Linked DNA regions of Homo sapiens: region 1 is linked to region 2. The links are contacts of gene promoters, found by promoter capture Hi-C in blood cells and fetal thymus (Javierre and others, 2016). All regions are on one chromosome and are shown on one strand. Each heading gives the region's core, a stretch centred on a gene start or on the middle of the fragment in contact. The rest is flanking DNA. Distances are from core to core; before and after follow the strand shown.

What was found. Contacts are between HindIII fragments. The CHiCAGO score rates a contact against its expected background, and 5 or more counts as called.
Region 1: a contact is called between a fragment that was not itself captured here and the fragment with the promoter of PAX6-AS1 in region 2, in 1 of 17 cell types (total B cells). The highest score is 5.7, in total B cells.

What each region holds. Positions count from the first base shown.
Region 1 is chr11:27,718,253-27,723,395 of GRCh38, forward strand. It overlaps LOC124902652 (a long non-coding RNA gene), which reads left to right and starts at 3,990. Exons shown (of 2, transcript XR_007062633.1): 1 at 3,990-4,234. It also overlaps a transcript of BDNF not described here. RefSeq lists an enhancer at 3,728-4,236. The HindIII fragment of the contact is 1,602 bases long and covers 1,734-3,335 here.
Region 2 is chr11:31,812,885-31,817,943 of GRCh38, forward strand. It overlaps PAX6-AS1 (PAX6 antisense RNA 1), which reads left to right and starts at 3,682. Exons shown (of 3, transcript NR_033971.1): 1 at 3,682-3,755. It also overlaps a transcript of PAX6 not described here. RefSeq lists enhancers at 1-649, 2,711-3,472, 4,994-5,059, a silencer at 1,493-1,747 and a promoter at 4,919-5,059. The HindIII fragment of the contact is 5,434 bases long and covers 597-5,059 here.

The DNA of each region.
Region 1 (5,143 bases), core at 1,285-3,784, 4.1 Mb before region 2:
CAGAAAGAAAAAAATAATAATTCCGGCCGGTTGCCGCCTGATTGGAAAAAGCAAGCGTTGCACCTTTAAATTCTGCTCCTCCATTCCCCGTTCCGCACACCACCCCCCCCCGCCCCTCCCGGGATTTTGCAATAAATCTCCCAGTTCTGCGTTCAGCCCTGCAGATCCGTATTTAAAACAGCACCATCTGGGAAGGGTGGGTGGCGATGGTGATGCGGGCGCCTTGGAGTTCCTTTGCAGCACGCTTGGAATTGCATCAGACTGATCAGAAATCCCCCCGCCCCCAAGCTCAGCCCCTCCCGCCACGCTCCCCTGCCCGCCCCTCCCCTCCCCTCCCTTCGCGTAGATCTGACTGAGAAAACGACTGGATCTCGGAACAATCTGTGCCCCATTCGCTGCAGGCTTGCTCCGTAAACCCTGCCCTACGCTCCCTTTGTGTGCCGAGCAGCCTATCACCGTCATCTGATCCTAGCGCCTGTTTTTTATCTTTTCCTTCTGAATTTCCACAATATCCTCGCTTCGCCTATGAATCCACCTGCGCAGAGTTGGGATTCTTTCTTTCGTTCGTTAAAACAGTGGTCTTGAGTTTCGGAAACAGATTTTTCCTACGTTCCCCTCACCCCTACCCCAAGCTCTTGCCTTTTAATTAAGAAGAGCTGATCGGGGGAGGAGTCCAGAACGACCAAACCCTGGGGCGAAAACTGCCACCGGGCTTGGCTCTGTGGCCGGAACAAAAGGCCTGAGAAGGGGGTGGGGGTGAGGGTTATAGGAGTGTGGAGAGCCTGGTGGCCCCCGCCCAGGGGCGCCTAAGTCCCTGAGCTCCCTGAAGAGTGGCAAGAGGATAACGCAGCCGCGCGTTCCGGCAGTTCGCTGTCCCCCGGGGGTGCAGGCGGGGGCGGGAGAGGTAGAACACAGGTCTGGGCGGCTCCGCGCCGCTTCTATCTCACCCGCCAAGCCCCTCACCTCCACCCACCGCCAGTCCCCTGCCCACCCGGGTGGCGGCGGCGGCTCAGCGACTAGCCGGCCGCCCTCCACCGGCGCCTCCGGACGCAACCTCGCCCTGGCAGGGCGGTCTGCGCGTCCAGCTGATTGGTGGCTCTGTCCAGCCGCCGCACGGAGCTAAAAGTGTTCTTCTCCACCGCCTCCAGCCGCCCAGGCCCCCTCGCCCGGCCCGCTCTCTGGCTCTTCGGTCCGGAAAGGACCTTCTACTCCCAGGCGGAGGCTCCCCTTTCCCTGAGTTACCCCGACTGACTCGGACCTGGGCTCAGTGAGGCATCCGGCCCGGCTGGGGAGCGGAGCGCGGTCTCGGCAGCTCCCCTTCCCTTGAGAAAGCGGGAACCCTCTAAGCCAGCGCCCGAAACTCGCGGGGAGGGAGGACAGAAGGGAAAAAAAAAAGAAAACCCAGAAAGAAGCATCCAGCGAGGAGCGAGGGCGACGGAGAGGAAGAGATAGAATGAGGGAGGGATGGAGGCTGGAGGAGGGGGCGGGGTGGAAGAAGGGGGGCGGGAAGGAGGGAGGGAGGGGGAAAGAGAGGGAGGGAGGGATACAGAGAGAATGAATCCTTCTCACTAGAAGAGCTGAAATTACCTTGATTCATTTTTTTGTGTTGGAGGTTTAGCTTTACCTCCTTCCCTCTTCCCAACCTCCACCTCCTCTCCCCACCGCACACCACCTCCACCGCCTGATTCTAAATGCTACAAAGTCAAATTTTAGGAATTCGAATGTTTTGCAAAAGCTTCATAATTAGTAATGAATCTACTGTACACACACACACACACACCAGCAAAGAGAACGGAAAAGAGGGAGGTGAAGAGGAGAAAAAGAGAGATAAATCTTACATTTGAATCAGACATTTGCAGGTCCAAGTTAACTAAACTCATTATATCCGCAGGAAGACTGAGTTTCTTTTTTTTCTTTCTCCCTTTGCCCCAGGGTTCTCACCTAGGGCAATTCAAACTGGGCAAATACCAAGAAACAACCCCCTCTCATGCTCTCCCTCTACCTCCTCCCCTCCACCACGCGTCCTCTCCGGAAGACAGTATCAAAATAGCTCAAGAATTGGGGATGCAAGGGGTCCCCGCCCTGGTGCTTACCTTCTTTGCGGCTTACACCACCCCGGTGGCTAGATCCTGGAGATAAACACTTGCATTTCCCAAAGTTAACCCAGTATACCAACCCGGAGCTTGCCAAGAGTCTATTCCAGCCTACACCGCTAGGAAGCCAACTTCAGCGAGCTCAATGAGGGGACCAAACTGGGGCTCGCTTTCCAAACGCTCCGCTCCAAAATCTGACTCTCTCTCCAGCCCCGATCTCAGTGTGAGCCGAACCTCAGAAAAGACGCTTTTTAAGGGCGACACAGGGTTGGCTTTACAGCGGGGCCAAGAAGACTACCTGGGGGTACCGCCACCTCGGACAAATCCGTTGGCTCTGTCCAAGGTGCTGAATGGACTCCTATCGCCCGGATTACACACCCGGCACAGCAGGAGGAAAAGGCTTAAAAATCTCTAATTAAGTGATACTTGATATTGCTCTAGACGGTTTCTTCCACTTCCTTACGGTTTGTCACGTGCGGATGGCTTTGCCAAAGCCATCCTGTTAATAGTTGATCACATGTTGATGAGAACCTTTTCTTCTACGAGAGGATTACCCATTACCGGTGATATGCACTTCTGACTTATTTCTCTCCCCCCAACCCCACCCCCCATCTACACCTAAACTCCCAGTCTTTACCCCACCCTTACCCCCACTCCACCCCCTAACCCCAACCTCTAACAGCATTATTGTTTTTAGATGGAAATTAACCCCCTTGCAAATGTCAATTACATGCCCACATATAAATCATAGAATATGATCATACACCATACACATTAAGGAAAAGAATAGAATGCAAGACTGCTGAGAGACAAGCATCAGCCTTGAACAACCAATATAACACACACCCCCCCACCCAGCTCCAAGTTTGTTCCACGCAGTTCCACATAGCTGTGTCAAATCTCAAATGATTCCAATTAAAGTTGCACTGTGTAAAAACCCGATTCCCCTGGCCTGAGTAGCTGCTGTTCTTTGGCGTGTGAAGTGCTAGGAAGAGCCGTGATATGCCCGTTGTTAAGCAACATGTCAAGATTTTTCAATTATAATGCAGGTTTTATTGCTACTCACCATTGTGCCTTTGCTGTCCTGGAGACTCAAGTGTCTTAAAATCTCGTCTCCCCAACAGATGCTGGAAGGTAATGTGTCTTGTTTGAAGTCATCATGTGAGAAGTTCGGCTTTGCTCAGTGGATCGCCCACCACTTGGTGTGACTTATGAATCTAATAACCCTTTGCAATATCCGCAAGCTTAAACTCTCAACCACCTTGGCGACTACAGAAGACAAAGCAACTGGCATCGATGTCGAAAAACCTATAGATTTACGCAAACGCCCTCACTCCGAGAGACACGTTTCCTTTTGAGTTCTTACGTGATTCTAATGAATGAGCGAGGTTACCAATGATTGCCCAACTGCCCTGCTATGTAGCAGGTGTTTCCTAGGGCTGCCTTCTAACCGCCCGTTACTGGGTCCTGGCACTGAAAGTTCCCAGAGAAAGTGAGGAGTTTCAGGGTACCCCTGTAAAAAAAAAAACTCAGCCTGCACACCGCTCCCTTGCCCACTACGCAGGTCACACCTGGGGCTCCGGCGAAGCTGAATTCGGCTCGGGAGATTTCCCTGTCGCCAGGTAAGAAAACCTTCGCCTTGTCAGGCTAGGGCGGGAAGACCGCTGGGGAACTTGTTGCTTATCAGCGCCGGCAGACTACCGCTTTAATAATAATACCAGAAAAGCGCAGCAGGGAGGGGGTGGGGGGCGGCAACGGCGACGACTAACCTCGCTGTTTACGTGACCGACTCACTGTGACTCTCTGGGTAAAAAAAGGAAACTTCTTAGAAAAGTTCGTGCCCCTCCCCCTCCCCCATCATGACTAAGGGTCTCCAGCCGATGAGGTCGTGAGTGATGATCAAATGGGGACTGGGGGGAGGGGGGCGAGTAAGTGACTTGTCCTTGGGAACATCTGCATGCGTCGAAGCGCGAACCAGCCCAACAACTTTCCCTTTTCCTCTTAGGTACTGATGACTAGGCGAGAGGCACCAAGGCGAGCCACTAGTTGCCCACAGGAACCTGTGTAAGCCGAGCTCTCGAGCGGCTGAGTTGAATGAAGTTATGACTGCGTTTGCTCTAATGGGTTATGGCTTCCCAAATGTGAGTTAACAGCCCCGGTGCGCAGCTAGGTCGGAAGGCGAGCCGCGGAGAGCGGAGCCGCGGGCCAAGGCAGGGACGGGAGGGGAGGCGGCAGGTTGGGCGCTCCGCTGCTGCTCGGTGCTGCTTCCCCGGAGCCGCTTCCTCATCCTGCGGGGGCTGCCCCGCCGCCGGGGTGCCGGGGTGAGCGCGGCGGGAGCCAGGGCTGGGGTGGCGAACCTCGGAGGGGGCTCTCCCAGGAAGCCCTGCGGTTAGCGCCCGCGCTTCCCCACCAGTGGCTGCGCAAGCTGGGAAGCGAAGAGGTCACGTGTTGGCGGAAAGTAACTTGGAGGCGAAAGGATGAACTTTGAGAAGAGGAAAAAAAGCACAATGAAACAAACTACCCCCTTGGAGTGTCTAATAGAGGGGGAGGCGGGAGGGGGGGCGGAGGGGCGCCGCTCTCCGCGGGAGATGTGGGGACGACTCCGGAAATCTCGGGAAATAGGCAATAACTCGAGCTTTGGCAACGTCCCCCAGCCTAGGGAGGCGCTAACGCAAGGTATCTTTCCACTGAAGCTGCCCTTTGCCTACCCTCAGCCATCGCTAGCACAGCAGAGCAGAAGAACCAGGGATGAATGTAGACCAGTTGTTATGGAGATGTCCGTCGCTCTGAGGAGCGCTAGTGCCCTGGGAAGTCCCCAGACGCATTTCAGGTTTCGTCGTTTTGGCACTGACACCATGATTTTACTCGCTCTGAGTTCCCACCAAGGGGAGCCCACCAACGGCGTCACAGGCCCTGGCCGTGGCGCTATTGACTGCAGGGATGAGGCACAGCGATGCTGCAGAAGATGGTGGATAGCTCTTAAGTTTCAGACCACCCAGCCCTTTCCAATTTCCAGTTTCTTTATTCCAGTCAAAAGTGCTTTGTTTGAA
Region 2 (5,059 bases), core at 2,432-4,931:
CGTCGCCGCAGCCCCTGGCAGCCGGGACAGTGAGGACGCTGCAAGCCGCCCTGGGCCGCCGGGCCACATGTGGGCCTCACCCTCTCGTTCCTGCCTGGGACCCAGCAGCCCTGCGACCAAGGAGCCCGGGCAGGGCTCCCGGGAAGCAAAGGCCTCCCCGGCCCTAGCCAGAGGTGGGGTCGCATAACCCTCTCCCCTCCCCGGGCTGGGGAGGGCTGCCGGCTCTAACCCTTCCCCGGGAGCTCGCAGCGCCGGGAGGAAACCTGGGTCAGAGGTGAAGGAGGTGGCGCCGGGTGTCCAGGTCCGCGGCCTCCTGGGCGAGGTTTCATTTCGCAGGAGCGCGACTTTCGGAGGATGCCGGCAAGTGGGGCCGCGGCCCTGAGTCCCAGACCAGCGAAAGTCGGCTTTCTCTTTCTCTCTCCTTTTACTTTCCAAGCGAGCATTAAAGAAGCTTGGACTCAAGACTCAAGTCCGCTGTGCATGAGCGAGGGACTTGCGGGGGGGCGGGGGGGGGGGAAGTGATTCTGTCCGAACTGGAGGCGAGTATCATTTTTACAACCTCTCAATTAGCGACCGAGTGGATTAGCACCTTCTTAAGCTTTGCCTCGGAAAGAAGCAGCCGTAATCTTGTTGCTATTTCCCCCCAGGGCACTGGCTCTTTGAATCAGCTCCTTCTCCCACCCCTCCAACCCCCATCTCGCTGCGGAGAAAAGTTTTAACAAAAAATCAGAAAAGGCAAGGAGCGAGGAGTGAATGCCACTGACGTCATTGGGTGGGGAAGGGGGCTCCGGGAAAGACTCCTGGAAACTCCTCCGCACAAACAAAAAACAAAAAGGACTTGGCTGCTTCCCATGTGTCAATATTTGGGGAGGGGAGTTCAACCCCAGAATGAGGCCGAGTTTTCAAAGTTTAAGGAGAGAGGGGTGAGAGTGAGATTTCCTCGTTCTCTCTGGACTGGTCTCAAGGAAGGTGGGGGTGCTGTTCTACCTCGTGGGGAGCCTCACTCCCTCTGCCAAGTACCGGCTCTGGGGGCGAAGCGGCCTAGGGGTGTGGGGGCCGAGACTGAGGTGCGGGCGCGGTTGCCAGAGGTGTGTACAAAACCGAGACAACTCGCAGGTCGCCATTTTAATTGCGGCTACCAACACGCCCGAGGCCCACTTGCTGCCCTCCAAGACGCGGGGGGGCGGCGGGGATTGCGCTTTAGGTTCTGTCTCCTTTCCCCGCCTCCCCACAGGCCCCTGTTCCCCCCTACCCTCCGCCCCCTGTGGCCAGAGGGAGGACCTCTCAGGCCGGCGGGTGCGTTCCCGCGGGGGCCGCCGGGGTCGTCCCACCCGGTAGCGGGGCTGTCTGCGTGGAGGGAGTCCCGCTGGGGGACCGTGGCTCGCCAGAGCCTGCCCAGAGCTTCTAGCCAGTATTGATGCGTCAACATGAGGTGAGGCAAGCATCTCACCCGCACCGATCCCTGGCATTCCCCTGTGCCCACCCCATCAGGCCTTCGGGGAGGCAAAGAAGTGCCCACTTCTGGGGGGAAGTGCCTCCAGCTCCCAGCTTCAGAACCAAGAGCCTCCCATCCGGAGTTCTGACAGTTCTGACACCTCCAAACTCTCTCTTTCCCCGGTCAAGCAGAGGCGCAGCGCCGGCGCGCTGGAAAGGGTGAAGACTGGCATTTTTTGGAGAAGGAAAGTCTTGGCAGACACCTGCGTCACTTTGTAGTGCCCCAAACGTCTCTCTTTTTGCAGACCCTGGGAAGGTGGGATCCCTTGTCCGCGGAGCTGGCAAACGGGTCCAGTGAGCCCTAAAGGCAAAGGCTCCCATCCCGGCCGCCCAGTCCCTGGTGCCTCCCCCACTTCCAGGCCTTTGTCCCTCTCCTTTCTCCAGCAACCTGCCGGTTCCCGCTAACCCGGCAGCCTCGCCGAGCCCAGAGCCTAGAAAAGCCAAGAAGATCCCAGAGCCGCCCCGTGGCACCTTCAGGCTGTGGCCACTGCTCGGCTTGGGGGGAAGCCGCGGTGCCCTCGCCCTTCCTCGCCTCCTGCCAAATGGCCAGTGCTAGGGGCTCCCTGGGTTCAGTCCTCAGTCCTCTTCCGTTCGCTCTGGGAGGCCAGCCTGTCTCTCTCTCTCTCTCTCTCTCTCTCTCTCTCTCTCTCTTTCTCTCTCTGTCTTCTCCCTGCCCACCCCCAAAATACCTTTAAAATAACATTGTCCAGTGGAGTCTCCCAGCAAAGGGATTCCTAGCAGCCCAGCGGGTCAGACTCCCAAGGCTTTGCCTCCCAGTCCCTCCATGCTGTTGTCCAGATAGGAGTTAGGTTTAAAACTCCTGACATGTAGGACAACTGAAATCAGCGGCACTCTCCGATTTTTGCAAATAGGGTTCCTAGAAAAGTTTGCTTTCCATTTCATCACCCTGTGACGATCCCCCCATCTCTCTTTTCCCTGTAACCTCTGCCCCCAAGAGGCAAGAGTTCAGCTTCAAAGGAAAAGCAAGCAAGTCAAGGCCACCTCAGTCCCTTCTCCCTGGATATCCCCTCTCTAAACCGCTGCCTATTCTAAAGGCCAACGACCCGGTCCTGCGATTTGTCCCGTTGTAGACCTGGGAACAGGCAGGCGGGAACTGGGGGCTTTACTGGGGGATTTGAGGCTGGGGAGGGGGAGGGAGCAAATGTCATGGCTGGCTCGCTCAAGCATCCAGGGAACCGAAGCTAAGCGCATCCTGACGGGCTTTTAAAATGACATTGATTAGGACAAGCTGTTCCCAACCCCAGTAAGAGTTAATCTGCCTGTTAATCAAGGCACTAAGGGGCTCAATGCGAGTTTTATTAGCGACAGGAGAACAGAGGCGGCAGCCAGGGATCAAAAGCCGGGATCCCATATATTTGTCAGCGCTATCTCCAAAAAAAAAAAAAAAAGTATTTTCAATTTGAAAACAATTCGGCGCTTTTCGTCACTTCCTAACCCAGTCTCACAGAGGGTGACTTCCAAACCTGGCTAGCGGGGAAAACCGCTGCCCGGGGGACAGAGGGGCTGACAGGAACTGCGGGTTGGCTCAGCCGAATGCGGCCGGGGAGAATTTAAGAATTCTCAGCCCGCGCGGCCCGATGCCTCTGATTCCTCACGAGAGGAAAGGGAATGAAAAATGAAGCAACAAATGACACCACCCAGGCTGGCAGCCCTCGTTCCCGGCCAGACCCCGCTCCTCAGGCCCGGCTCTGGCGCCGGGTGGCGTCCAGCCCCTGCACGCGCGGCGCGGCCCGCGGGAAAGTTTGTGCAGCGAGAGTGACTGTCCTTCCGCCTCGCGCGCGCTGCCCCCTTCTGCCCCGGAGGGGCGTTGGGTTCCCTTCGGTTTTCCTTTCCAATTCTAAAATAAATAAATAAACTCCGGGCCCTGGGGAAATCTGAATAGTAATTCCAGTCATCCAAATTCTATGAGAGGGTCTGAGGAAAAAAAGACAAGCCTATCACGGGCGCCCTCCGATCACGAAGGGCACGGGCATGAGAAGGCGACAGAGGAGGTCCTCGGCTCGCCCTGGGCGCGGAGCGAGGACTCTGGTCAGAGGTAATTATGTCACCGCGTTTTCTCGCCGTGACAGCCGAATAAACACGATCTCCAATAAACATCTCTAATGAGGGAGGAGGCCCGAGGATGGCTGGGTTTGATTTATGACTGGAGGAGAAGGTCCACTTCCCACTGCGAAGCAGGCGACCTGCTCGCCGCCCAGCTCCAGGGAGAGGAACCCGCGGAGGAGAGGATCCCGGCCCAGGTAAGGCGTGCGGCCGGACTGCCACTGCGCTCGTCCCCCGTTTCCAGGTGAGGTGAGCAGGGGGCGCCACCGCTCGGAGTCGGGCGGAGGTCCCAACACCTGTCACAGGTGACTGAGCTCCGAAGGTGCTCCCAGAAGACCTAGAAAGGGGGCGCAGGAGCGCGAGTGGGAGTGGGGGTTGGGGGCTAGCCGGGGCCTGGCCCAGAGGCCGCCCCAAACTCCCGGGCGGGGTTCTTGGGTGCCCCGCCTAAGCCGGCCTGGGCGTCTCCAGCTGCTTTTAGGGCCGGGCTCCCAGGACTTTCGCCCGGCTGAACCACAAGTTAGTCTAAGTTTGGGTCGTCCCTTCCCTGACTCACTAAGGGGACACTTCCGGGCCCCGGCTCTGGCCCTCCAAGGGCCGCAGGGTGGTGGGCGCTTCTCTTTCCCGGGCTTGGCGGCCCGGCTCCCATGGCGCCCGCGCGCTTCCCGCCGAGGCAGCCAGCGCAGCGCCCGCAGTAACCGGAGCCCGCGTTCTAGCTCAGTGAGAATCGCTAATTATTAGGTCTTCCGAAGTGAAGCTCAAATCACACGCTGGGAGCTTTACGCGCTGCCCAGCTCTGTCGGCCGCATTCTTTCGTACTCCGCGTCTTTCTGAGAAACGAACCCCATCTCTAGACTTTGTTGCGGTCCAGCCATCTGCACTTTGCAACCGCGGGAAACTTCTGCTGCACCTCGCCCGACCCGCGGCAGGGTGTCTTTAAGCGCTCCAGGCGCGGGTACGGACTTTCCCAAGCGTGGATGTCGTGAACTGCGATGCAGAGGAGGTCTGGATGCAAAGTGCGTCCCCACCTCCTGCATTTTTCGCGGTCGCGAGTGGCTTTAGCAGACAGCAGCAGCAGACTCCCGCCCCCTACTCCCAGCTCAGGGCCGGACTGGAAGTCCACTCTTAGGAGTGGAACATTTTGCTACTTTTGCAGAAGAGCACACTCGGCAAAGACAAGTCCCTCCTCCACCCCCCTTCCTATCCCTCCCTCAGTAACTCGCTTCCATCTTTGTATGCCTCCTTTTAAAAGCAAAAATCAAGCCCCGGGGCCACTTGGGGCGGGCTTTGATTTGGGGACAGCAGTCGCTGGCAGCGGAGAGGCCCCGCGGGCCCCGAGCCGGGCCGGGGCCGGAGCCCGGGCGGTTACCTGGGAGCGGAGGGCGGGGAGGCAGGTGAGCCTGGCAGCGCCGGTTCCCACACTTCTCACCGCCGCTCGGCAGGGGAAGTGGCAGATCTGACAGCCGCGTTCTACGCGAGGACCTGCCCCAGAGTTTAAATGTCA